Regions from separate parts of the Homo sapiens genome. Here regions 2, 3, 4 and 5 are each linked to region 1. Evidence: promoter capture Hi-C in 16 types of primary human blood cells and fetal thymus (Javierre and others, 2016). All regions are on one chromosome and are shown on one strand. The core of a region is centred on a gene start or on the middle of the fragment in contact, and the rest is flanking DNA. Distances in the headings are between cores, read along the strand shown. Region 1 holds the start of ADAMTSL3 (ADAMTS like 3). Region 2 overlaps ADAMTSL3 (ADAMTS like 3). Region 3 overlaps ADAMTSL3 (ADAMTS like 3). Region 4 overlaps ADAMTSL3 (ADAMTS like 3). Region 5 overlaps ADAMTSL3 (ADAMTS like 3).

Region 1 (5,489 bases), core at 1,870-4,369:
GCTGGCTCAGGAGTCAGATTGCCCAAGGGAGATGAGACAGGAAGTCCTGCTGAGCCATTAATACCTTAAAACAGAGCAGTGCATCTCAAATGTTCCCAGCAAAGTCCCCCAACTCCAGAGGCATTCTCAGTGACTTCTTGAGTTGCAGACACCGGGAGCTCTGCTTAATGCAGCCACCACTGCACAAGCATAATATTTCTTTGAATTCTCCATTTCATCTTGCATATTCATGTGACTTTTTTGCATTTGACTCCATGATATGGTGGGGCTAGTTTTAGAATATGAACGATGAGGAGTGGTATCGTCTAGTTGCTAAGAACATGAGGTATTTAAACCTTTCCACTTCAGTTTCCTCATTTGCAAAATGGGAATAAAAATAATATCTACCCCATAGGCTGTTGTGATGATGGGATGACTCGGTATAAGCAAAGTATCTGGAACAGTGCCTGCCACATCCTAAGTGTTTTGAATGTTAATGTGGCTATTCCTTTACTGATACTCTGATATGAGAAGCACGAAAAATCAATTCTCATTATTTGCAGATTCCTTATTGTGAATTCAGCTACTGGGTAAAATTTATTTGTCACCTCCGTTAAATTAAGTTTAGCCTAAAGTTGCCTTCTTACATATTTTAAGTTCGGCCTAAAGGTCTCTCTGTACATAGTAAACTGTAACCTGATGATGTGTAAACAGACTGTAACCTACTCTTGAAGCAGTCACAGAGTTTTGGCCAATCACAGGCGGTCAACTGTTTAAACCATGTTTAAATAAGGCAAATGCCGAGCTGTAACCAATCCAGCTGTTTCTGTACCTCATTTCCGTTTTCTGTTCATCATATTCCGTTTTCTATCCATAAATATTATCTGACTATGTGGAAGCCCCAGAGTTGCTCTGAATCTATTTTGTTTTGGGGCTGAGGGGGGCTGCCCTATTTTCAAATTGTTCTTTGCTCAATTAACCTCTGTTAAATTTGTCTAAAGTTTTTATTTTAACACCTCATAATCAATAGCTGCAGCACTTTCAAAGTCATTGAACCAGTGCTGAACGTTTTGAGTCTCTTGAGACACATGTTGGAAGCTAAGGTCCAACCAGTCAACCCTCTGTCTTCTTGTTTCAGCTTTCACACTGTAAATGAGTGGCCCAAAAGTTCTCTTCATTGCCATGTTTTCACATTTTTTTGGTCTTTTTTTTGATGATTTTGCTGCTTAAAGCACCCCCCAGGCACAGTGCTGAAGTGAAGTCTAGCGTTCCTAAGTGGAAGAAGGCTGGGATGTGTGTTGCAGAGAAAATACGTAAGTTAGATAAGCTTCATTCAGGCATGAGTTACAGCACTGTAGGCTGTGAGCTCAGTGTTCAGGAATCAACAATAGATGTTAAGTAAGGCGTCTTTAAACAGAAACATGCATAAAATAAGGCAATGTGTTGATTGATTGACAAAAATATTGTGAGCTTGCAGGAACCCAACTCTATATTTCCCCTAGGAACAATGGCTCCATATTCACAAATTCGTTGTTCTGTGACTTTATAGACCACAACTACAGTAAATAAAAAGGATCGATTGTCCATAGATGAGTTAGTTCTAGTTTAGCCCAGCCCTCCCTACCCTTCACTGGCTACTCTTACCTCTCCTGTCTCCACACTGACCTGTCCTCTGCTCACTTGCCACAAGTCCAATCATTTTACATAGAGTGGAGAGACAGCCTTGAAGATCCTCTTCTTGGTCAGAGGAAGTCACCAGAGTAAGTAAGGGAAGAATGAGTGAGGAAAGCAGGCAGGGCCAATTGCTCTTGGCAAAGCTCTAGCAGTAACCGGAACGCAGCAACCACAGAGAAGGCAGGAGAACAACTTTAGGGGTGAACAGTCCAGGCTCTAGAGAGAGGCAGATAGGGGTTCCAGTCCTGGCTTCTCCACTCATGGTGGGCAAGTTATCCTCCCAGCCTCAGATTTATCCTAGGTGAAATGGGATAATGCTCGAACTACTGCTGCTGTGAAGATCAGATAGACACAAAGAGCTTGGTACTCGACAGACACCCAAGGAAATGGCGACTGTGGTAGGACTTAGGTGGGGGCATAATGCAGCCTTTAAGATCAATCTCCTGGCCCTTGGCTTATCCTGCTGGGACTAGGACAAGGACAGGGACAAACATTTCCTTTTACTTCTCCTCACCTCCAGAAGTACACAGGCAACTCACCCCAGTCTCTTGTCCGCGACACTCTTCCCCCCAACCCCAAATCCCAGGCCTGGACACGGCATGATTCTGGCACCTGTGGAGCTCTCAGTTCCCCAAGCCCGGCTCAGACAAGGAGGCGCCAGGTACCCAGTTAAGAGGCGCTCCTGCAAGATCCTCGTGGTCCCTGGCTGCCAAAGGTCCCAGGCCTCTGGGCAGTGAGCGCTCCACAGTCCCTTGTGTGGCGTCTATGCTGCGCGGAGGAGGCGCAGGCCAGGAGAGGGCCATTGGTCTCCACTATGGTCCTGCCTGGCCAGGAGTGCCTATGGCTCTTAGGCACGAGCCAGCGGTTCCGGGCAAACCTCTGTGTGGCTGCTGGGCCTGACTTTGCAGAGCTGGCGCCCGGGTCTGGGCGGGGTGGGTGGAGGCTATGGGAGGTGGGGCCGGGGGTGGGCTCGGGGGGAGCGACGGCATCCCTGCTCCGGCTCCGGCTGAGGCGGGGCGGCCAGGCTGGCTTGCGGCGCAGCGGCCGCCTTTCCCCAGTGCGCCTGCCGGCGGCGGCGGTGGCGGCGTCGGCAATCCCGGCTCTTGGCACAACGCCTGGCGGCCGGCCCAGGGCGAGGAGTGGCTTCCAGGAAGCGGGCGGAGGAGCGTTCCAGCCGAGTCCCGCCGTCGCCGCGGCCCCGCGCGCTCCGAGCGGCCCGGGCCTGGCCCCACACGGCGTCTCTTCGCGCCCCCGGCGCCTCCAGCTCAAGCCGAGGGCGCGGTGCCGGCGCGCAGGCTGACGGGCGCCTGGGCGCGCCGTGCACTTGCCGGGCGGTGCAGGTGGCGGCGCGCGCCCTCCGCCTCTGGGCCGGGGCCAGCGCAGCGCTCTGCGCGCCCGGAGGGGGCGGGAGAGGCGGGGCAGCCCCCGTCCCAGCCCCATTTAACTTCGCGGCGGCGGCGGCGACTGCGGCGCCGCGGGCTGGAGGCCGGCGTCGGGGAAGGTCCTGGTGCCGGATTCCGCACGAGGTGTTGACGGGCGGCTTCTGCCAACTTCTCCCCAGCGCGCGCCGAGCCCGCGCGGCCCCGGGGCTGCACGTCCCAGATACTTCTGCGGCGCAAGGTGGGTGCACCGAGCTCGGCGCAGGGCGGCCCCTCAGGGGTCGGGGGAAGGCGCTCCCCAGAGGGAGTAAGACTTGGAGCAGTGGCCTCTCTAAGCAAGTTGGGGGTCTCCAAGCAGAGTCGGGGCGTGCCACGCGGGCCCCAGGGGGCCTCAGGACTGGGGTGCTCCTCACTGCTGGGCACCTCGGGTCGGGCGCGCTTCGTGCCGTCCCGGAAGGTTCAGGGAGAGTCTTTCGGCGGCAGTTCGCGGGCTGAGGGGCGTTCTTGATTATGGGGGAACTCCACAGGGTTGGAGTTTTTCAGGATTGGGAGTTACTAAGCAGAAACCTCGCGGGTCCGAAGGTCCGGCCGGTTGACCACTGGGTAGCGAGCGCCCAGAACGCCGGGGGTTGAGGCGACGCGCGATCGTGGAAAGTGGGCGTGGGGGTGACCGGGACGCGGCGGAGGCACTGGAGGAGCGACTTCGAGGCAGCGGGTAGTCGGAGGAGTGTGCACTCGGAAGGCTGGTGCGAGCAGGCGAGGGTGGCGCAGAGTCCCAGGGCCCCGCACTGGCCGCCTCCCTTCAGCCAGGAGTCGCCGCCTCAGGTCGGAAACAGCAGCACATTTGCGGATCACATTAGACCAGGCCCTTAATGCCTTCTCCAGATGGAGAGAAGCCACCGACCCGCCCCCGGACACCAGCTCCGCCAAGGCGCCCGCGAGGCGAAGCGGGAGTCGAGTGTGACCTCGGCTTTTCCAGTCTCGACTCATACTGATTTCCCTGTAAATTGACAGGAAAAGTAAGGGAAAAAGTCCCCGCTTCCCTCCTGGTTTCAGCTGACCTCTGCTGGCTGGCCCTCACCTACTTTTAGGAGATTGTGTTAGGCTGGCTCAGGGGCTGTGTCCTCCAAACCTCCCTGAACTTAGCTCTCAGGCGTCTCTCTGGGTGTGGGTCCCGGACCTCGAGGGCGCACGGTGTCATCTAGCGAGGAAAGCCTTGAACTATCAGAAGATCTGCGTTTCAGCCCTAAAATGTCACTATCTTGCTGTGTGACCTTAGGCAGGTCCTTTCCCTCTCTGGGCGGCTTTGTTGTCTTAGACTCATTTTTGCCGCGAGCAGCAGAAGCTAGCCTAAACCTTGGCTCTGTGCTGGCTTCCTGAGTCAAATGCCAATAGCGACACCCTGCTGCTGACAGATAGGCTTGGGCAGGGATATCTCAGCTTCTGAAGAGCTGGAGGTATGAGATGCCCACTGGAGACAGGTCCAGCCCTCGCCTGACTTTGTTGTGGACCTTCTAAAGGGAGCCCAGTTAGCCTGCACCCTGCAGTAGGCAGCGGCAACCTGGGCCAACACAAACCTTTCCAAAATAGTATATGGGCTTCAGGGTCCCTCCATCTAATGGGTCGCTTAAGTCACGGTTTACTGCCATGGGGGCCAGAGCTGGTTGGTAATGAACTCTTTCCTCGTTTGTAGGCTACAACTGAGACCCGGAGGAGACTAGACCCCATGGCTTCCTGGACGAGCCCCTGGTGGGTGCTGATAGGGATGGTCTTCATGCACTCTCCCCTCCCGCAGGTAAGGTCATATAGGGAGGGGAAGGGAAATGGTGGACATCCCTCTGTTTACTCAGAGGCATTATTGTATACCACCTAAGATGTGGCATGATTAGTGTTAATCCTACACCAGAGAACCAGACTTTCTTTCCTATCTCTAGCCAATGGTATTTCTGGTTGGCTTAGCTGTAAGGATTATCCAGATCCCTTGGGTCCTCTCTGAATCCTGAGTAGGGCTTTAATAGCACTGTGGATACCATACACCGGTGATGACCTGGGGCTGTGATGGACCCTGTCATTTCAGACTAGAATGGCTGTCTGCATGTGCCCAGCAGAGGCTGGGTTGCTGGAGACCAGGAAACAATGGGCAGAGCCAGGTTCTGGCCCTAGCTAAGCTGCTAAATAAATATTCTGAGTTTACATCTATCATCACATATCCCACTGTTTTATCCCACAGTCCTCTCTTTAGACTTCTGCTGTCTTTTCCAACCAACTTGAGAGGACCCGGCTCATGAATTGCATCTTTATTTGCCTAAAGGACAGACTCAAACAAAGGAATGAGGCTAGCATTGCCTAAGAGACAATAGAGAGTAACGGAGACAGTGGCAAAGTGCAGAACGCGTGCTCCATCTATTAAGAGCAGTCTCTACTCAATTCCATCTGATCGTTGCTAAGTGGAGACAT
Region 2 (5,489 bases), core at 863-3,362, 380 kb after region 1:
GCACTTGGAGCCCTGTGTCTCAGCCATGGCTAAAAGGAACCAACATACAACTCAGGCCATTGCTTCAGAGGGCGCAAGCCCCAACCCTTGGCAGCTTACACATGGTGTTGGGCCTGCAGGTGCACAGAAGTCAAGAATTGAGGTTTGAGAACCTCTGCCTAGATTTCAGAGGAATGTATGGAAAACCCTAGATGTCCAGACAGAAGTTTGCTGCAGGAGTAGGGTCCTCATAAAGAACCTCTGTTACAGCAGTGCAGAAGGGAAATGTGGGGTTGGAGCCTCCACACAGAGTCTCCACTGGTGCATTGCCTAGTGGAGCTGTGAGAAGAGGACCACCATCCTTCTGACCCCAGAATGGTAGATCTACTGACAGCTTGTGCTGTGTGCCTGGAAAAGCCACAGTCACTTAACACCAGCCCATGAAAGCAGCCAGGAGTGAGGACTGTACCCTGCAAAGCCACAGAGGAGGAGCTGCTTAAGGCCATGGGAGCCCACCTCTTACATCAGCATGATGGAAGACACGGGGTCATGTCTGGATGTGAGACATGGGGTCAAAGGAGATCATATCGGAACTTTAAGATTTGACTGCCCCATTGGATTTTGGCCTTGTATGGGGCCTATAGTCCCATTATTTTGGCCAACTTCTCCCATTTGGAATGGGTGTATTTATCCACTGCCTGTACCTCCACTGTATCTAGGAAGTAACTAACTTACTTTTCATGTTACAGGCTCATAGGCAGAAGAGACTTGCCTTATTTCAGATGAGACTTTGGACTTGGACTTTTGGGTTAATGCTGGAATGAATTAAGACTTTGGGGGACTGTTGGGAAGGCATGAATGCTTTTGAAATGTGAAAGGGACATGAGATTTGGGAGGGGCCACGGGCAGAATGATATGGTTAGGCTTTTTGTCCTCACCCAAATCTCATCTTGAATTTTAATCCCCACAATCCCCACATGTCAAGGGAGAGACCAGGTGGAGGCAGTTGGATCATGGCGACAGTTTCCCTCATGCTATTCTCATGATAGTGAGTGAGTTCTCACAAGATCTGATTGTTTTATAAAGGGGGCTCTTCTCCCTTCACTTGGCACTTCTCCTCTTTGCCGCTTGTGAAGAAGGTGCCTTGTTTCCCCTTCACCTTCTGACATGATTGTAAGTCTTCTGAGGCTTCCCCAGCCATGCTGACTGTGAGTCAATTAAACCTCTTTCCTTTGTAAATTACCCAGTCTCGGGTATGTCTTTAGAGCAGTGTGAAAATGGACTAATACAGAGGGGATGGTAAGCTTAGGCAGTTTCTTCCTGACTCTGAAAAAGAGGTGTCTGGTCCACAGAGCTGTACCCTAATCCTCTTTAACTCCCCCCTGGGGACAGTTGGTTACAGTCCCCTTGTAATAGGTCTTCAGCTATCCTGCCTCAGTACATGATCTTAGTACACACAGCATGGATGAGCTTGCAGGATTTACACTGCACTGTGCTTTTTTGTTCCAGTGTCCTGGACGTTGCATGGGCCGTGCTGTGAGGATGCAGCAGCGTCACACAGCTTGTCAACACAACAGCTCTGACTCCAACTGTGATGACAGAAAGAGGTAGGGGCCCCACCCCAGAGCAGCACACATTCTCTCCTGACTCACTCAGGACAATGATTATAACTGCCTGAAAATGGAATCCTTTCTAGTTTCTACCAACTCTCATAATTGACAGTTTTCAATTATGATTTATTTAGTGTCATCTTCAATAGTATATATTATACTGAAATACTAGTTAATGTGCACTATTTATAACTATAAATTGTTTGGATGTTAAACAATAAAGGGACACCACTCTATGTGGTAAAAGGGGAAAAGGATATCATTGAGAAAACGGAGATACTTCTCCCTCTATATACTAAGTTAATCAAGCCTAATAATATTCCATTTAGGCTTACAGATTAAATCTTCTTAATGCTTTTAATGAACTGCTTTATTTCTCTGTTTAGAAAATGTTTTGATTAGGATATTGTCACAGTGGTTGGCAGATAGTAAAATAAACTTTAATCTTGTTGAGGAGGTTAAATAAGGGTGGAGTTTGCTTTCCTCCTTTTATAAAAGTCTGAGCTGGTAGATGGTTTAGGGATAGAAGAGCTTTTTTCATGGGGTCATCCAGAGATCCAGATGCCCTCCATCTGGCAGCTCTACCATCCAAGAGAACAGCACCCCAGCCAGCAGAAAGTGGGGAGAGAGCCTAGAAGGCACACTAATCGGGGGCTTGGGAGTTCTATTATATCACTCACTTACTGTGTGACCCTGGACTGCCTAGCCACCTAATCTGCAAAGTGGGATATTATCATCCATGTGAACTTATGTTTAGAAAGTTTTAATGATTTAGCTTAGTGTGAAACACGAGGCAGCCTGGGTCATGGAAGATGCTCAATATCTGGCTATTTCTTCCTTTTCCATGTCCTGAGTCTTGCTGGAGAAAATGAGATGACCTTGACAGTTGGCTGGGTTACCATTTTGAGCCTTCAGTAAGGTTTGGCAATGTAGGGTCAGTTGCATTTCCTATTCCCCACAAAGTGATTTCAAGCCAAAACCATTCTCCTCAAATGGAAAATGTTTGGAACGGCTGCTCTCATTCTCAACAGACAACCTAAGTTTCCTATTTTCCTGAGAAGATACAGACCACACACAGATTGATATGCATCATCCCAGGTGCTTTACTTTGCATTCACAAAGATATACTTAAAGCACAAATACATACATGGGTCACATACATATTTTTCTGAAACTTGCTTTTTCTACCTAAGAATATATTATAGATAATTCCCATCAAGTAAAGATTAACTTTATTCTTTTTAATTTTGTACTTAATACTCTATTCTACTCAATATTCTATCTAAATTTTGTACTTAATATTCTGTTGCTAATGGACATTGGATAGTTTCAAACTTTTTGCTATTATAAACTAAGCTTCAGTAAATATCCTGGAACATATATCTTTGGGTACAAAGGGTAATATTTTTATAGAGTAGATTTTTAGATAATGGAATTGAATTGGTAGGAATGCTCATTTTGATGCTATCAAATTGCCATCAAAATTTCTATGCCAGCAATATGTGAGAGTTGCCCCCTTTTCATCAACATGATATAGGTTTGCAGTCTTTTAAAATTTTTGCCAATCTGATGGATGAAAATTTATCTCATTGTAATGTGTACTTTCCTGATTACTTTTTTATATGATTTTTTATTCCTTATATTTTTTTTCTTGAACTCATCTTCATTTTTTCTTTTCTGCCACCATTACCCTTGGCCAAACCACCATCGTATCTCACCTGGTATACTGTCACAGCTGTCCAACTGGTCCCCCTTCATCCATCCATGCTCCTTTCCAACCCAGTCTCCACAGTACAGCCAGAGTGAGTTTTCCCAGATGCAAATCTGATCCTACCACCACCACAACCCATCTCCCTGCTAGACTAAAATTACTTTAGAGGTTTTACTTGCTCTTAGGAAGATTGACCAAATCCTCAATGTGACCTATAAAATACCACATGCTTGGCTGGGCATGGTGGCTCACACTTGTAATCCTAGTACTTTGGGAGGCTGAGGCAGGCAGATCACTTGAAGTCAGGAGTTTGAGACCAGCCTGCCAACATAGTGAAACCCTGTCTCTACTAAAAATACAAAATTAGCTGGGCATGGTTGCACATGCCTGTGATCCCAGCTATTTGGGAGGCTGAGGCAGGAGAATTGCTTGAACCTGGGAGGTGGAGGCTGCAGTGAGCCAAGATCACACCACTGTACTCCAGCCTGGGCAACAGAGCAAGACTCTATCTCAAAAAAACAAACCAAAAAACAAACAAAAAAACGTGCTCAAGTCCTACTTTTCTTCACAGCCTCATCCATTATCTCATGCTGTCTCACTCTTCATGTTCCAGCCACACTGTCCTTCTGTCAGTTTCTCAGATATGTCACATACTTTCCAATCAAAGGTAGCAAAAAATAAGAGGCAGAAAATGTAATACGGAAGATAAAGAGTATAGAAGGATCTATCAAGAGGCTCAAAATCTGATTAAATTGGGTTTTAGACCAAGAGATATGAAAGTGAAATTAAAGGGTAGACTTTTTTTTAATAATGGAAGAAAATTCCTAGAGCTGGGGGTGAGTCAGAGTGGCAGGGAGTCAAGTTACCATTCATTTTCTCTTTTATTTCTGTTTCCTCCAGGATTGGCTGTTCTGTTTTTATAACCTGATGCTTTTCTTTCATGGTGTTAATATTTTTTCCTCAGATATCTGGTGGTTTATGGATGAGGGATGAAGTTGGTTAGTATAGAGAGCTGTCGAGGGTTTCTTCTGCAGTGTTTTAGCCCCCTTTTCCCCACAGACCTCTTCTGCTGGATTGGTTTATGACCATGGGCTCTCTGTAGGTAGGTGAGGTGTTAGATCTCACTTTTGAGTGGGTGGACAGGGAGCAATGGAGACCCCCCATTTGCCATAGTAGGGCCTCAGGAAATGTTAGAGAGTGTTGTAGAAGGAGTAGCATTAGTGGCGTGGGCAGAGGATCAGTGGTGGGCAGGCTGTCTGCTAGTGTTTACTATATGCCCTGGGAAGGTTTTGGGAGCTGTGGCTTCCATTGAAAAGTTGTAGAGGGAATGGGAATTGTCAGGGTGGAGCTAGCCCAGACTTATGGCAAGGTGACAACATGGGGACCTATAGAATGCTGAGGACACAGAAAGTTGGTTTCTCAAAGTGGCGATTTCTAACTTCTGAAATCAGAATCACCTAGGAAATTTCTGTAAAATAAAGATGCTTGGGCCTCACCTCAGGCAGTGAATCAGAACCTTCATGAGATTGCCTGGCCATCTACAGCATTTTAAAGCTGTGTGCTTCTGCCTGCTTCGAATAACCAGGCAGGCTTGGGATCTACTGCCGTCAGAATCAGCAGTTCCATCTGGCTGATGGTGAAAGGAGTTACTTGAGGCAGAAGTGGAGCCAGACTGAATAGAAGTGAGAAATTGAAAAAAGCTAGTAGAAACAGGGTTCCTTTATGATTTCTGCTACCATTTCTACACTCATGCTTCATGTAGAAAAACACATGAACCCCAGTTATGTGCATAGTGCAGGTGCCCAGACTGCATTCACCTGGCTCAGGTGTCTCTGTCCTGAGTCCTGTCCCTGGCCAGGAGGAAGTTACGCCCTCTACTGGACAGACCTTGCTTTTTATTTATTATGATTTTTTCTACTGTATCCTTAGTGAGCAGCCTCTTAGCTTTCCTGGGCTTCAGCTTCTGTGTTGGTCCATAGCTCCCTGTGCCCCTCTCATTCTTTGTATTTAGAAAGCTCAATAGTCCTGTCTGACTTCCCACTGGCCCTGCCTTTCATCAAAGCAAAAGGGGCTGTTTTACAATCCTTTGGGCTAGAAGCAAAAGTCAACTTGGCATGATTTATGCAAAAAAGGGTGAGGGATTTATTAATAAGACAAGACCACCCAAAACTTGTGCACAATAATTTGGT
Region 3 (5,489 bases), core at 1,407-3,906, 350 kb after region 1:
GCACCACCACATCTGACTAATTTTTTTTTTTCTTGTAGAGACAGAGGTCTCGCTGTGCTGCCAAGGCTGGTTTAGAACTCCTAGGCTCAAGCAACCCTCCTACCTCAGCCTCCCAAAGTACTGAGATTACAGGTGGGAGCCACGGTGCCTGGCCTCCCACTTTTTCTTGGTTACCATATTTCTGATATTAAGACTCATTTAGCTCCCCTAAGTTTTAACATTAATAAAATGGCCCTGGATCAGTCCTGTTGAGCCTGTGAGATGGTGCACTAAACACCTGTACAATCCACAGGGCAGGAGCCTCGTATCCTCCTCTGCTCTTGGACAGAAGCTCTTTCCTCAGTGATCTTCTGAAGTCCAGGCTTCTAAAGAAATGAGTTGCTTTAATTCCATGAGTCTCTGAGTGGTGCCTCCTGGCTGGCCTGTGTTCCCTTGGCTCCTCGTATTGGTGTCAGAGCAGGAGCCAGAGTGGCTAGTCCGGAGTTTCCCAAACCTGTATGAGATTTGATAGCAATTGGGAAGCTTTTCATACCAGGCAGTAAAAGTGAAGGGTTTTGAATGCCCTATACCACTCAAATCTACTTATACTGTAAGAAATGCCTTTGCTTGCTCTCTGCCCTCCAAGACTCTCTGCTTTTGGTTCTGTGTGCTGAGACCCCCAGGCAGCAGCAGAGAGCACAGGACAAGTGTGCAGCATGGAACAGCATCCATTATAAAACACAGGGAACCGTCAGAAGCCCCTGAATGACCCACTAGTTCATTCCGGCTGCTATGACCTAACTATGCCTTCACAGCAAGACCGAGAGGCCCACAGCACCCACACAGGGTGGGGACTGAGGGAAAGGGAATTTTGTTGGAATTCAACCCCCGGAAATAAGAAAGCATGCAAGCTTCTGAGTACAGTCTGAGAAAACCATGCAGGACCTTGTTAATGGAAGAAAAACACTCCTTTATGGGAAGAGCCCCATAGGACCTGTGTAGAATTTTGGCCTCTCTAGTAACATCCCAACTTATATAACCCTGTTTTTTTTCTTTTCATTCATTTATTTCCCCTAGTTATTAATTCAATACCCAGTTATTCATTTTGATGACTGACACATACTACAGTCAGGTCATTTTATTATTTTGGTTAATGTCAGTTCAGGCCTGGACACCACAACATCTCCCCAGCCCTGCCCTGAGAGATTCTGATTTAATTCATCGGCAGTATGTCCTGAGAACCAAGGATTTTTAAAGCTTCGCCAGAAGATTCTAATGTGCAGCCAAGGTTAAGAACCACTGATTTAGCCAGTAAATGGGGCCAAAGAGGTCCCTGGAAATTATCTCAAATATCCTCTCAAAATGAGAGACTCTTCCTCAGGAATTAGTGGGTAACCAGAGGTCAACTAGAACCAGGAGTAAACCAGGAGTAAACCAGGAGTGAACCAGGAGTGAGTAATCAGGAGTAAACTAGAATTAACCAGGAGTGAGTAAACAGGAGTAAACTCAAATTAGGAGTGAACCAGGAGTGGGTAACTGGGAGTGAACTAAAAGCGGGGGCTAAATGGTAGAACCCAGCTCCATGCTCTGGGCTCATTCTGAAGGTAGAATCAGGCATGCCAACAATTGATGCCTCAGTGTTCAAAGGTTCACACAGGAGAAATCAGCTGTCAATGTCCAAGAGGATCAAGGAAGTGATTTTGAGATGCGTCTTTAAGAATGAGGAGAAATGTTCCAGGTGGTGAAAGGGAATAGCAAATGATCTGCAATGGCGAGAACAGCACATAGAACAGCTTTACAGCCAGTGTGGTGTGTTTGGAGAACAGTGCAGTTCCCGGGCTGGAGGATAGCTGTTCTTAGCAGTGACTCCCCTAAATTGAAAAGGCTTTTGTGCTTTTCTCCTCCAAGAACAGGAAAGGCTATAGAGCTAAGAAAACTGACTCTTACTCCCTACCATTCCTGAGGAGAAAAGACCCCCCAGAAATAGAGTGAGAGGTGCAGCTCAGAAGAACCAAAGGCAAGAGTTAGTGGTTTAAGGAAAGAGGAAATGGAGTCCTGGGGAATCAACACGGCCTTGAGATGTCACCCCAAGACACCAGCAGCCCACACATAGTCCTCTGGGGTTTTGCTGGTGATAGCAGTGGAATCCACTTGGAGATTTTGGTGCATGATCTCCAAATAACTAATATTTTTAACTGGCTAATAGCTATTTGTTCATCTATATCCCAATGTTATCTTGATAGATTACCAGAATTGCTGATTATCAGGAAGGGCCTCAGGAATGTCCATGGTTCTCCCTTTGAGCTGCTGTTTAGGAGTTCCTCCTATCCCCTTTACTGGAATCAGTAGTTTACACCACTTGCATAGCTCCAGCATGTATCGCTATGCTTGATTTGCACCAACTCTTGACTTTCTTCTTCAAGGAACTACTGAAGGTTTTTGGTTTTGATATAATAATTTTCACTGGCACTTTCTAGCCTATAAATAAGACTCTGGAGGACAATATCCAGCAGTGAACTGTGTGGTGCTCATGAGATATGTCTGGTGGCGTTAAAGAACTGCCCAGGCTCGCGCAAAGCAGAAGCCCAGGGTACGTGAGAGATGAGAATGACCACACCAGGAAGAGGACTTGTTGACACTCTTCTCCATGTCAGAAGAAACACAGTTCAAAACCTTTAGGGAAGGACTTTTAATGATGGAGTTGGGAATAGATACTATGACCCAGATGATTTCTAAATCCTCAGAAATCAAATTGATTGGGGAACAGATTATGTCAATCTAAACATGAGTTTACTAGAGAAAAGAAAGTACTTAAACAGCTATTCAAGAGAATTCTGTAAATAGTAAAAGCCAGAGCCCTCTATTTGGAGACAGTTCTGGATATGGCATCAATGATGGATAGTCCATTGTATCCAAAAAGCATACATAACGTATTTTTCAAAAAGAACAAAAGGGTATGCAGTTAACTCAGAAGAGGAACGTTCCTTACAAAATTTACTCTGCTGCACAGATTGGCCCTGCAGTTAAGAAGAGTGCATTCATTATTCTAGTAGCTTTGAGATACTTTCTCTGACACTGAACCCTTGAACTCTTATTTCTTTCTTTCATTTATTAGTGATGACTCCCTTTGTCTATCCTGTGTTTGATTTGCCTTTTATAAATTGGCAACATCATTTCTTCATGATTCCCCAGAGATAACTGATGGTAGCTTAAATCTTCATTTGTCGTATATGAAAAAGTAATGCAGAATTCTGAGTGAGTTTTGAGTAGCTGGAAGAAACAAACATGAGAAAAAAATATAGGTATAATATATATTTATTTAAAGATCCAGCATTTCAGGGCAGTCTGAACAGGCCAGGGATTTATAGTGTGGAATATTTCATGGGCCTTTCAAGGATGAAGGAAATTTGTTTTTAAACACTGACTAGTTTAAAGACACCCCCGAGGTGCAAACTTTTTGCAACACATGTTTCACAGCCCCTCCGGCTCTGAACTTTTTTCCACAACATTTGTCTTCCAAAACAATTTCAGCATTGTGGAAACAGAATGTTGAATATATCAGAGCTGCAAGTCTTGGGGGAAATAGCCTGTCTTTAAGGTTAGATAAATAAGTTTAAACTATTTCTGACGTTTTATAGCTGTTGCAACAGAGCAAATGTGTTATTTTGAAACACCATAAAGAGCAGTGGTGCGAAGAAATCTGTCTGAATTTCCTCTGGCCTGTTCAGTTCTTTGAAAATGTTTACACGTGTAACGATGCTTCTAGGTGCTGAACAGACCTGTGGGGTAGGAGAGGGAGTTGGAGTTCACTATGGGACTTACGGAGTTTGAGGTGCCTGTGGGACATGTTGTGCCAATGGGAGATGTCCAGGAGTCTTGAATTCAAGGGAGAGATTAAGACTGGATAGGTAGATGTGGGAGTTTTCAGCATAGGAATTATCACTATATTTCCCAAAGTAGATGAAATGGCCCCTGGGACAGTGTGTAGTGTGAAGGAAGGACTTGGTCCTGTACTCTGGTGTGGTCCTGTGCTCTTCATTTCAAACTTCCTATTTCTGACATTTTCTTTTGGAATGTAACTTTGTCAGTTTGTTCTGAGAAGCTTGCGCTGGCATGGCTGTTTGGCCATCTTGGTTGTTTTCATACCTTAGTTTTTAGTCTAGACTCCCATGGTCACGTGGAACAGAGAACCACCTCGAACTGGCTTAAGAAAAAATGGAGGAACTATTGGCTAATAAAACCGAAAAGTTCTGGAGTGTAGACACTCTGGACATAATTTTAGATACATCTGGATTCAGGAACTTAAATGATTTAGTCAAGAATCCACCCCTTAGCCAGGCACAATGATGCATACCTATAGTTCCAGCTATTCAGGAGGCTGAGATGGGAGGATCCCTGGAGCCCAGAAGTTTGAAGCTTCCGTATGCTATGATCATGCCTGTGCATAGCCACTGCACTCCAGCCCAGTGAGACCCCATCACTAAAAAAATAAAAATCCATCTCTCTCTGGCTCTGTTTTTTTTCTGTGTTTTGAGGTGGTTGGTGGGCAAGGGTTGAGGGAAGACCATGTATGTTAGCAGATCATAAAACATCATAAGCAGTTTATTTTTTGTTCTAAGTGAGATGGAAGCCATTAGAGGATTCTAAGCAAAGGAGTGTCATGATCTGAGCTACCTTTTAGAAGAAATACTATGGCTATTGTGTTGAAAATAGACTGTAAAAAATCAGAGAGTAAAAGGAAGGCAAGGGTGGAAATAGGGAGATGAGATAAGTATTCCAGGTGAGCAAAGCCATCCCTAAATTCCCTGCCCTGGACTCCACTTCCCTCTCCAGCTATTGCCTTAGTTCTTGATTTCCATTTATAGCAAAGTGCCTCAAGAGTAGTTTATACTTGCTGTCTTCAATTTCATTTCTCTTCATTCTCTCTTGAATCCACTCCAACCAAACATTCTCCATACCATTACCTTCATAGCTATTGTCAAGGTCACCAACAGCTTACCATGTAAGTGTGAATTGCTAACTTCAGTTGTCAGGTTTGTTTGTTTGTTTTTTGAGACAGATTCTCACTCTGTTGCCCAGGCTGGAGTGCAGTGGTGTGATCTTGGCTCACTGCAACCTCTACCTCCTGGGTTCAAGCAATTCTCCTGCCTCAGCCTCCCGAGAAGCTGGGATTACAGGCTAAATGTTTTTTGTATTTTTAGTAGAGACAGGGTTTCACCATGTTGCCCAGGCTGGCCTCGAACTCCTGACCGCAGGTGATCTGCCCACCTCGGCCTCCCACAATGCTGAGATTACAGGTGTGAGCCACCACACCAGGCCCCGTGGTGAGTTCTTAGGCCTTACCTTACTTGCTCGTTTGACTACACTAGCATTGGACAGTTGCTACGCCCTCCTTCTCTGCTTTGAGGAAACCACTTTGTTTTCTACCTACCATAGTATCTGTTCCTGTGTAGCCTCCTTTGTCCCACCTCTTGTCCCTGATCTCTAAGTTGAACTACCCGAGGCCTCAG
Region 4 (5,489 bases), core at 1,033-3,532, 330 kb after region 1:
TGCTTCCGCACCATCCCAGTGAGAGCAAGAACATTCAAGCTTCCACCCGATCTGTAGCAGCCACTGCTACCTTGAAACAATCGATCTCCACATATTCCTTAGTTGTATTAATTCAAAAGTTTGACTGAACACAGTTTATGCTCTGCTTGCAAAGAAGTGAGTTACAAAACCATCCATGTGCACATCCATCTTTTATATTGTCCACCACTGAAAGGCCCATAGCCAGACAGTGTCCACCTGGATCTTTTTAAATAAAAATGATACTTACACGGGTAGGCATACCTTGCCTTGTTACAATAGGCTACTTCTAAGTATTCATAACATGCAATCCAATTAGTAAAAATAGAAGCAGGTGAGTAATAAAAAAAGGAGAACAAACAACGTTAATATGTGATTGTGTCTTGAATTTTATATTCCTTTTACATGTAGGCACTAATTTGGCTCCAAACTTGCTTTAACAGCCATCTTGAAAAAGGCAACCTTGCCAATTGCAGTTTAGGAATTCATTAGATAGGAAATGAGCTAATTACTCAGAGTAAAGTATAATGATTTCTGATGCTAAAACCAGAAAGAAATCCTCCCATGATCCTCTTGCAGAAGACACTGGATATTGTGAAGACTAGAATGTGCTCATAGACAACACAGATGCTGCTTCCTATTTTCCCTTCCCTCTTGACCAGCAGCTTCCTGTCAAATTGTCTTTCAGTGAAAGAAACTGGGTCAGGAATGCCTTTCTCTAGTGCTTTGGCTTAATTCATGGTACATGCTGGGGTAATGGTCCTCGAACTTTGCTGCACATTTCAGTCAACTGGGGAACTTTAAAAAATTCTGATGTCCTGGCTGCACCCCGTAAGTCAGAATTTCTGGGGATGGGACCCAGGATACTGAGATTAGTGAATACTAACAATAACAGGTGATTCTAACAAATAGCAAAATTTGAGAGCCATTTTTTTTAGAGCATCTGTGGTCAGAGTTGATATTGAACCTGCACATACCAGTATGGACATGGTCAGAAATATGGTCAGAAAAAAAAGAATTAGTAAACAGCCTCTGCTGGAACCCCATGAGCATTTCTCACCTGCTCAGGCCACTCTGCCAGTAACCGCCTGACTTGTCCATAATCGAACAACTATGGGGTTAACACTTCGTACCATAGTAGGCCTCCAAGACCCTATTCCAGTGCTATGGCCAGACACATTCTGTTGATTGAGCCCTTGCTGTGAAGATTTAGTATTTTGAACACCATCTATATTATCTATAGTAATGGATTGACTATAAATTTACCAGGGAGTCTTCCATACATGTTTTTCAGCTTTTGATTGTTGAACAGTAGAAAGTTCAAAATTGTATTCTAGCCAAATTAGGGGAAATTTACATGGCTTAACTGGCTGGGCCATTTGACATACTTTGTAGATACTCTGTCTCCCAAAAAGTAAAAGTATGTATGTGGCAGTTCATCCAGCTCCACTTAGAGATGATGTGACAGAGCATTTTCAAGCAGAACCCTGGACCCATCCTGAGATCAATAGGCCTGACCTACCAATTGCATCTGTATGGAATTTGTATACAAACAAATTATGTATGTCCTTCACTGAGAACATTCTCTACCACAGAAATTATGGGTTCACCTCCATTGTTTCCCTGAACCTGTTGACACCACGAAACCCCAGTAGGCAGCCAGACTTCAAAGGGCTCATGAGGCGTGCAAGAGGACTTCAGTTATTCTCAGTTCTCAGGGTACCAGTAAACACACTGTAGCCAGCGCCAAGGGCCTGAGAAGGCTATGAAAGAGAAGTCTCAATCTGCTTCTTCTCCCAGCGTGTGCTACAACAAGGAGGACCTGTAACTGGGGTCCCCCAAGGTAAATTAGGTCCCCATTGCATGACCTTCTAAATCCAGAGGTATTCTTGATGTTAGTCCAGTATCTCTTCTGCCACTCACTAGTGCTTCCAAGCCATCCATCCTACACTCCACAATCTGCTCAGGAACCTAAATACATCATCAAAGAGGATCCAGACTTCCACCCATATCACTGTCCTTCTCCCATGCCTACCTCAGAATCACCCCAGAACACATTGAGCCTTCTCTCAGGTGAAACAAGGGAGAGAAATACTTCTCTTGGGGACAGGATCTGAGAAGTATTGTCTTTGGGCCTAGCCCATTAAGAGGAGCCGATCGATGCCCAGGAACAAGTCAAAGCCAACCCCATCTCTGTTCCCTCTTAGTCTTCCCTGCTGTGCATTGGCTGCACCTGCCCTTGTCACCAGATCAGTGGTGGCAGCAGTTATATATGAGAGCTCATTATGTGCCCGCTACTGTGCTGTGCACTTGATATAAACAATCTGACTTAATTTTTACTTCCCTCCCATTGAAAGCACTAACATTATTCACATTTCACAGGTGAGGAAACTGAGGCTCAGAGAGATGAAAGAATTTGTCCAAGTGGCAGAGCTAAGATTCAAACTCAGGTTTATCTGACTTCAAACTGCCTATGCCACCTGTTCTTTTTTGATCACGGCTACCCATTGCTTCTTCAGACCCCCATGCCAATTTAATCGACATATTTGGGTTATATTCTGCAGCTGGCCAACCTCAGCCTCCTTTCAGACCCTTCAAATACATTTGCTCACATTCCCACTCTCACTTCCTCCCTCAGATTTGGGGTACCCATGGCTCTAAGCCAGAGGGCCTCTCTGCCAGATAGTAGAGACCTGACATATCAGACCCTTATTGATGGAAACATGTACCCAGAGGCTGGGTATTTATGGAGCCATTATATGAGCATGGCCTAGAACAAATATTCCTCAAATCTAGAAATAACTATTCCCTACATTTCACCAAATCATTTAACCTCATGCCTCCCCAAACCAGGGTTTTATCAAATCACTTACACATTTTCATGCACCTCATTCACACTTGCATTCTTTGCCACTAAAGTACTAGATAGTTGTGAAATTTACCCCAATCTGTGGATGTATAATGTTATTCATGGTTTTATTCTTGAATGTTTTAAAATAGTAAAAAAGATACGTTTGTTAGCCTGTATCAGCCTTGAAAGATTACTGTCAAAAAGTCTGTATTTTTGAGATGTTTATTCGTATTTTCTTTTCTTTCTTTTTTTTTTTCTTGGAGAAATCAAATCAGAGATGAAGACAAAACTTGGTGAGCAGGGTCCGCAGATCCTCAGTGTCCAGAGAGTCTACATTCAGACAAGGGAAGAGAAGCGTATTAACCTGACCATTGGTAGCAGAGCCTATTTGCTGCCCAACACATCCGTGATTATTAAGTGCCCCGTGCGACGATTCCAGAAATCTCTGATCCAGTGGGAGAAGGATGGCCGTTGCCTGCAGAACTCCAAACGGCTTGGCATCACCAAGTCAGGCTCACTAAAAATCCATGGTCTTGCTGCCCCCGACATCGGCGTGTACCGGTGCATTGCAGGCTCTGCACAGGAAACAGTTGTGCTCAAGCTCATTGGTACTGACAACCGGCTCATCGCACGCCCAGCCCTCAGGGAGCCTATGAGGGAATATCCTGGGATGGACCACAGCGAAGCCAATAGTTTGGGAGTCACATGGCACAAAATGAGGCAAATGTGGAATAACAAAAATGACCTTTATCTGGATGATGACCACATTAGTAACCAGCCTTTCTTGAGAGCTCTGTTAGGCCACTGCAGCAATTCTGCAGGAAGCACCAACTCCTGGGAGTTGAAGAATAAGCAGTTTGAAGCAGCAGTTAAACAAGGAGCATATAGCATGGATACAGCCCAGTTTGATGAGCTGATAAGAAACATGAGTCAGCTCATGGAAACCGGAGAGGTCAGCGATGATCTTGCGTCCCAGCTGATATATCAGCTGGTGGCCGAATTAGCCAAGGCACAGCCAACACACATGCAGTGGCGGGGCATCCAGGAAGAGACACCTCCTGCTGCTCAGCTCAGAGGGGAAACAGGGAGTGTGTCCCAAAGCTCGCATGCAAAAAACTCAGGCAAGCTGACATTCAAGCCGAAAGGACCTGTTCTCATGAGGCAAAGCCAACCTCCCTCAATTTCATTTAATAAAACAATAAATTCCAGGATTGGAAATACAGTATACATTACAAAAAGGACAGAGGTCATCAATATACTGTGTGACCTTATTACCCCCAGTGAGGCCACATATACATGGACCAAGGATGGAACCTTGTTACAGCCCTCAGTAAAGTAAGTAAAATAAAAATGCAGTATTCATTTTTGCACTACCTTCTTAATGGCTATTCCAGTTTTCTTGAAAATATTTTCAAATTCCTCTCCTAAGCATGTGTTTCCAACAGGATTCTTTAGGAAAGAAACTAAAAAATGTTAAGATGTGTTTTTCACATATACGTTGGAATTTTTAAATTCAACCGCCATATCATCCCAATCACTGTCGTAGAGGTGTGATATGACTGGATCCAGCAAGAATAAGTTTAAGCATATATACACTCCCCCTTTACTCAGCACTTGGCATTTAAAAATAAAATCAATATAAGGCCATTTTAAAAGTAAGCTTATTAATAGTAATCCTACATTATGTTGGAACTGCAAATCAGAATTTACAGAGCTCTTCCATGTCTAGGAGATGTGGTATCTTATTTGAGCTCACATCAGCCCCATGAGATTGGCAGGGCAGGGGTTAACCTTTCTGATGAGGTAATTGAGAAGCAGAATCCCATGACTACTTCATGGCCAATCAGAACCAAGGGCCGTATCTCTTGAATACCCACCAGTGGTATTTGAGTATCACACAAATACGTAGCCTTGTCAAAAGCTTGGGTATCTGAAGTAGTTTTCTATTATCATGCAATTTTTAAATGTCATACAATCCAAAAATAAGAATCATAGTGTTTTGAGATGTTCAAAACACAGTATTAAGTCACATATTATTCTGATCTCTATGCCAGTGTAAAAATGTCACATTTCCTTTATTTTACATAACAGATACTAATTTACTTTTGCATTCTTTATTGCCTTCAAATCTTGCTGTTTGTATACAAAGTACTATAGACATTGTGCCTTCTTTTGATTCACATGTAAGAGCTCCAGCTCTACCTTATCTGCCTTTAGAGATCGTTAAGAGACACAAATAACACAGCAGATGTGAAACTGTTTTGCATATCACAAGGTACTTTCAAAATGCAAGTTTTACTTTTATCATGTCCTTTGTGCATTGAGCCTCGTATGTGAAACATCAGAAAAAACTTAGGTAAAATTCAGTTTTTTAAAATAATAAACTATTAGGCTATATCTTAAAAAGGTAGAAAAAATCTAATTTTTGAATTTTTAATGCTAGAACTATGAACACAAGAGTACAATGAAATTTTAGAAGTAGAATAAACCTTAAAACATAGCAGTTCTCAGAGCTTTTGGTTTTAGACTCTTTAAAATTTAAAAATGATTGAGGAGCCTAAAGAGCTTTTGTAAATGTGAGTTGTATCTATTGCTGTTTACCTCACTAGAAATTAAAACC
Region 5 (5,489 bases), core at 1,486-3,985, 300 kb after region 1:
TTTATCTGATAGAATTCTGAATTCCTTTTCTATATTGTCTTGAATTTGTTTGAGTTTCCTCAAAATGGCTATTTTGAATTCTCTGTCATGTATCTCTGTCACTCCAGGATTGGTCCCTGGTGCCTGATGTAGTTCATTTGGTGAAGTCATGTTTTCCTGTAGATGTCCTTTGGTGTCTGGGCATTGAATAATTATGTATTTATTGTAGTCTTCACAATCTGGGCTTTACAGTCTATGCCTGTCCTTCTTGGGAAGCCTTTCCAAGTATTCAAAGGGACTTGGGCCCCAAGCCCAGTAACACTGTGCTTCATGCACACTCATAGAGATATCACTTTGGTGGTCTTGGATAAGATCCAGAAGCATTCTCTGGATTACCAGGAAGAGACTCTTGTTCTCTTCCTTTACTTTCTCCCAAACAAACAGCATCTCTCTGCCTCTGTCTCTGTCTCTCTCTCTCTCTCTGCTGAGCCACCTGGAGCTGGGATTGGGGTGATGCAAGCACCCCTATGGCCACCAACACTGGAACTGCCCTGGGTCAGACCTGAAGCCAGAATAGCACTGGGTTTCACCCAAGACCCACTGCAGCCACTATCTGGTTACTGCCTATGTTCACTCAAGGCCCTAGGGCTACAGTCAGCAAGAGTTGAAGCCATCCAGGCTTATGTCCTTCCCTTCAGGCTTATGTTCTTCCCTTCAGGGAGGCAAGTTCTTTCAGGCCCTGGGCATGTCCAGAGATACTTTCTGAGAGCCAGGGATTTAAGTCAAAAACCTTAGAAATCTACCTGGTATTCTATTACCCTGTGGCTAAGCTGCCACTGAAACCATACAACAAAATCCTTCCCCCTCTTCCCTCCCCTTTCCACAGGCAGAGGAGCTCTCCCCATGGCCATCATCATCAGCAGTCCGTAGAGAGTTCTGCCAGGCTACCATTGCTGATCACTTAATGCCTAGGGGCTCTTCAGCCAGCTTGTGAATGCTGCCAAACCTGGGATTCACCCTTCAGGGTAGTAGGCTCCCACCTCTGGCCCAGGGAAGGTGCAGAAATGCTGTCCGAAAGCCTAGGCCTGAACTCAGGGACCCCTGAAGCCCACTAGATACTCTATCCACTGTGCTGAGCTGTTACCCGAAGCCAGCATATCTCAAAGTCTCATCCAAGGCCCATGGCATACTACCTGGATATCACTTTTGGTTATTCAGGGCCCAAGGGCTCTTTAGTTAGCAGATAATTAATGCTGCCAGGACTTGGTCTTTCTCTTCAAGGCAGTGGGTTCCCTTCTGGCCCAGGGTGTGTCTAGAAATGTCACCCAGGAGCTAGGACCTGGCATGGGGGCTTCACGACTCTGCCCAGTGCACTGTCTGTGGCTGAGCTTGTATCCAAGATGCAAGACAAAGTACAAAGTCCTCTTGACTGGTCTCTCTCCTCTCCTCAAGCAGAAGGAAGGAGTTGCTTTCATTGCTACAAGCTGTGCTGCTTGGGGTTGAGGGAGGGGTAGTGCAGGTACTTCCCCAGCTGCCCCATCTGGTGTGTCACTAGGTCACACACTGCCCCAGTCCACTGGCTCTAACCCCAGAACACCATCAGACTTGCCTAAGAATCTGAGTCCTTCCTAGACTGCCTTTCAAGTTCACTTAGGACCCCACAGCACCTTAGCCCATGGTGGTGAGACTGCTGAAACTCAGGCTCCGGCCACTGGAATAGGCACTTCCCCTCTGGCTAGGGCTGGTCCAAATGCTGTCTCTGTGGGTATCAGCTGAGTTCAACATGGTTTCACTTCCCACTGTGACAGGGCAGCACTGAGTTCAATGCAAAGTCCCCCAGTTGCTGTGCTCTCCCTCCCTGAAGTGCACAGATTCTCTCTCCGTGCCATGCAGCCACTGCCAGGGAATGGGGAAGGGGTGGTGTTGGTGATTTAAGGCCATCTTTTCTGCCTTCTTCAGTGCCTCTTTCAGTGATAAGAAATTAAAAACAAGTACTGTGATGGCTCACCCAATTTTTAGTTCTTATGAAGGTGCTTTTTTGTTCACAGATAATTGTTTAAATTTAGTTTTCCTGTGGTAGTGGGAGTAGGGGGATGATCAATGTAGCCTTCTATTCTGCCATCTTGCTCTGCCCTTTTTGCTAAGCACTCTTCTACTGGAATAATAGTGTCTTTTTAGACTGAATCTGACAGTTTACTCTTATATTATGACCCATCCAAAATATGCCCAGTGGATTCAAATTCATGTAGTTCTATCTGTTCCATGTGTTTTAAGTTACACACACACACCGCACAGGCACACACACACACACACACACATAACCTGAATACACTTTATTTTCCTGACCCAAAGTAACTGCCAGAGGGGAAGACCCATTTCTGCACATGTTTGTATCCCACTTGGTGCTTGGTAAACACTTTTTGGCTGAAGTATAAAGATTTATAAAAGCTTCTTCTACTCTAAATAGGCCTATTTCCATAGCCTTACAAACTCACTCATTTAATCAACATTTACTGAGCATTGCTATGTTGATTACCCTAGGCACCAGGAACCAGAGACAACTAAGAATAGTTTTCAGTGAGCTCACTGTTTAAAAAGGCAGGCAGAAGAAATGACATTTACAACCATGTAAAAAATGCCCAATAAAGGTGTTCTGTCTACAGAGCTACGTGAAAATTGAAGGGAAACGTTTAAGTCTGCCTGGGTCACTGGAAAGTGTTGCATAAGATGCAGCTTTGGAGTTGCGTCTTAAGAGATGAGTGCAAACTGTGTGGAAATGAGACAGAGGGGTGTTCTAGAGTGACAAGCGTGTATATAAAGGCACAGATTTGGGAGAGTTTATCAGTCTTGTGTGGCTTGAGAACAGGATGCACTGAGTAAGTGCTGGTAGGTGAGATGGAAAGGAGAGATTACAGCTGGATTGTGAAGGCTTTAGGGTATTGGATTTATCCCTACAGTCATTGAGAGCATGTTGGAAGGTGTTTGAATGGGGAAGTAAAATGTAAGGTTTTAGACATATAATTCTGGCTGCACTATGGATAAGGTATTAGAGGAAGAAGGAATTGAAGCTTGAAAAACCTTGTTAGATGGTGATTGGAATAAAATCAACAAGAGAGAATGAAGAAGCAGTTGGGATAGAGAGTAGTAAGTGGTTTTGAACAATATGTAGGAGATTTAACTGACATATTTGGCAATTGAATTGACAGGACATGAGCAAAAAAGAGGAGTGTTTTGTATTTTTGTCCTGGGAAGCTAATGAATGAGACGACATTAATTTTAAAATTAATTAGAAAGAAGAAGCATATTCAGAAAGTGACTTGAAAGGGAGAGAAAAATGGCTTATTTTAGACATACATGTAGTTTGAGAGTCTATAAAGGTATCAGTAAAGAATTACAGCTCAGAAAAGATCTACATTAAAGTTATAATTGCGTGAATCATCAACACATATGTGGTAGTTGAAACCATGGAAGATGACTACCATGATATCTAAAAGTATATTATTGACAGTAGTCCCTTTAAAAATTATTTGAAGGCTTCTAGTGAAGCAAAATCATGGTAGTAGCATAGTTACTATTCCCAAATCCCTCATTAAAAAACAAAAAGCAGAGCAATTAGGAATGCAGAAGGAAAGGAAAAACAACAGAGGTAATTTTAACAAAAGTAATATAAGTAGGTGAGGCCAAACCACACAGTGCAGACACTGTTCAGAAATGGCAGAATTAGCAGCTGGGCAGCGATAAAAAAGAGGAGAGACAGGGCCAAGAGTTGTGGAACACAGATGTCACGAATAAATAGCATGACAAGAAAATGATCCTACTCTGAGTAGAACCCTCAGCAAATAGGTCTGAGACCAATCAGCCAAATTGAGGAAGGACTCCAGAGTGTGATTGGTTCCAGAGTGTGATTGGATGCAAGAAAGATTGTGCAGAACCACTAAAGGGCTTAAGAAGTGCCCAAGAAAAGTTGTCAGAATTATAATCCAAGTGGAGAAGGAACACAAGAGGTAAAGGAAAGAGATGTTCAGATCCTTGGGAGTTGGGGAGTCCAGAGATACAAATCCCAGAATTGTGGCCAAATTGTTGCATATAATACTTCCTTTTAACACCAGAGGAGGAAGCTCTTAACAGTGAAGATAACTATCCTGAAATATTCCCTCCTGCTTACACTCTCTTTCCCTAAAAGTACAGAAAACAATCTAATTCATTTAATAAGAACATCTGCAAACCTCCAAAAAGATACAGTAAGATAAAAGTATCAATAGCATACCAACATAATGAAAATTTGGCCTTTAAACAGATGAAAATATACTCAGTGTTACAAAATGAGCTAAGAGAAACAAAAAGAAAACTGTAGAAACAAATCAGAAATAGAAAATTCAAGAAATGAGATGAATAAATAACAGGAGAATGTAAAATGATAGCTGACGGTTTAGAAAAGAATTTTTAAAACTAAGGGTAAATTTCTCAGAATGTAGACTAAACACTAGAAGAAACTCAAGAATGACTGGGCAGAGAAAGTGTAATAAGCAAAATAAAAGGAGGGAAATGACAAGAATCAAAGAGAAATAAAAAAAGATTCAAGTGCAGATAATATATATAAAAGACAAGGAAATAAAATTCAATGAATATAGAGTCCCAGGAAAAGAAAACCACCAAAAATCATAACAGAACAAAACTTAATGGCTCAAATTGCCATATTGAAAGGGCACTCTATATACCTGGGAAAACTGACCCAGAATGGTCAATATCAAGACATACTCAGCTGGGTGCAGTGGCTCAAGCCTGTAATCCCAACACTTTGGGAGGCCAAGGTGGGTGGATCACTTGAGGCCAGGAGTTCAAGACCAGCCTGGCCAACATGGTGAAACCCTGTCTGTACTAAAAAATATACAAAAATTAGCTGGGCTTAATGGCACACTCCTGTAATCTCAGTTACTCGGGAGGCTGAGGCAGGAGAATCACTTGAACCCAGGAGGCAGAGTTTGCAATGAGCTGAGATTGTGCCAACAGAGCAAGAATCCATCTCAAAAAAAGGACATATTCTACTAAAAGATAAAAATATATTTGTGCATCTATGCAAAAGAATCAAGTCATTTATTAGGGAAAGAAAATCAAACTGACGCTAGACTTCTCAACAATACCACTTCATACTAGAAAACAGTGGAGCCACATATTTAAGATACTGAAGGAAAGAAAGTGTGAGCCAAAGATTTTATATCCTGCCAAACTGACTTTCAAGTTTAAAGGCCACAGGCAAATAGTTTTGAAGATGCAAGAACTCAATCTATATTGTTCCCATGAGCAATTCCTGAGGAATCCACGAGATGTCTATAGAGGAAACCATGACAAGCTTTGGCATAAAGTTGCTGCTTTGTGAATGATAATTAATGGCACTGATTATGACATCTCCTCTCTCTGTGAGTTGTGGACATTCTCTGATGGCATGCTTACTTTAACTTAGCAGACACACAGTCACAGAAGACTTTGCTCCAGAAAAAAGGGTTTACAAA

Evidence for each region. The method cuts DNA at HindIII sites, captures the fragments that hold promoters and counts their contacts. A CHiCAGO score of 5 or more calls a contact.
Region 2: a fragment that was not itself captured here is called in contact with the fragment with the promoter of ADAMTSL3 in region 1 in 3 of 17 cell types (M1 macrophages, M0 macrophages and endothelial precursors); the score reaches 8.4 in M1 macrophages.
Region 3: a contact is called between a fragment that was not itself captured here and the fragment with the promoter of ADAMTSL3 in region 1, in 1 of 17 cell types (M0 macrophages). The highest score is 5.4, in M0 macrophages.
Region 4: a contact is called between a fragment that was not itself captured here and the fragment with the promoter of ADAMTSL3 in region 1, in 1 of 17 cell types (M1 macrophages). The highest score is 6.6, in M1 macrophages.
Region 5: a fragment that was not itself captured here is called in contact with the fragment with the promoter of ADAMTSL3 in region 1 in 1 of 17 cell types (M1 macrophages); the score reaches 5.4 in M1 macrophages.

Annotation. Positions count from the first base shown.
Region 1 is chr15:83,651,004-83,656,492 of GRCh38, forward strand. It overlaps ADAMTSL3 (ADAMTS like 3), which reads left to right and starts at 3,120. Exons shown (of 30, transcript NM_207517.3): 1 at 3,120-3,273; 2 at 4,726-4,827. The coding sequence starts at 4,759. RefSeq lists an enhancer at 1,589-1,758. The HindIII fragment of the contact is 5,383 bases long and covers 1,305-5,489 here.
Region 2 is chr15:84,029,847-84,035,335 of GRCh38, forward strand. ADAMTSL3 (ADAMTS like 3) reads left to right here. Exons shown (of 30, transcript NM_207517.3): 28 at 1,489-1,586. Among named protein-coding and RNA genes, the nearest start is that of GOLGA6L4, 200 kb to the right of the region's middle. The HindIII fragment of the contact is 1,662 bases long and covers 1,282-2,943 here.
Region 3 is chr15:84,003,097-84,008,585 of GRCh38, forward strand. All of the region lies in intron 23 of ADAMTSL3 (ADAMTS like 3), which reads left to right. Among named protein-coding and RNA genes, the nearest start is that of GOLGA6L4, 230 kb to the right of the region's middle. The HindIII fragment of the contact is 2,845 bases long and covers 1,235-4,079 here.
Region 4 is chr15:83,979,141-83,984,629 of GRCh38, forward strand. ADAMTSL3 (ADAMTS like 3) reads left to right here. Exons shown (of 30, transcript NM_207517.3): 21 at 3,133-4,204. Among named protein-coding and RNA genes, the nearest start is that of GOLGA6L4, 250 kb to the right of the region's middle. RefSeq lists a silencer at 4,583-4,772. The HindIII fragment of the contact is 4,490 bases long and covers 38-4,527 here.
Region 5 is chr15:83,954,405-83,959,893 of GRCh38, forward strand. All of the region lies in intron 19 of ADAMTSL3 (ADAMTS like 3), which reads left to right. It overlaps LOC105370935 (a long non-coding RNA gene), which reads right to left. Exons shown (of 3, transcript XR_007064744.1): 1 at 1-5,489. Among named protein-coding and RNA genes, the nearest start is that of GOLGA6L4, 280 kb to the right of the region's middle. The HindIII fragment of the contact is 620 bases long and covers 2,426-3,045 here.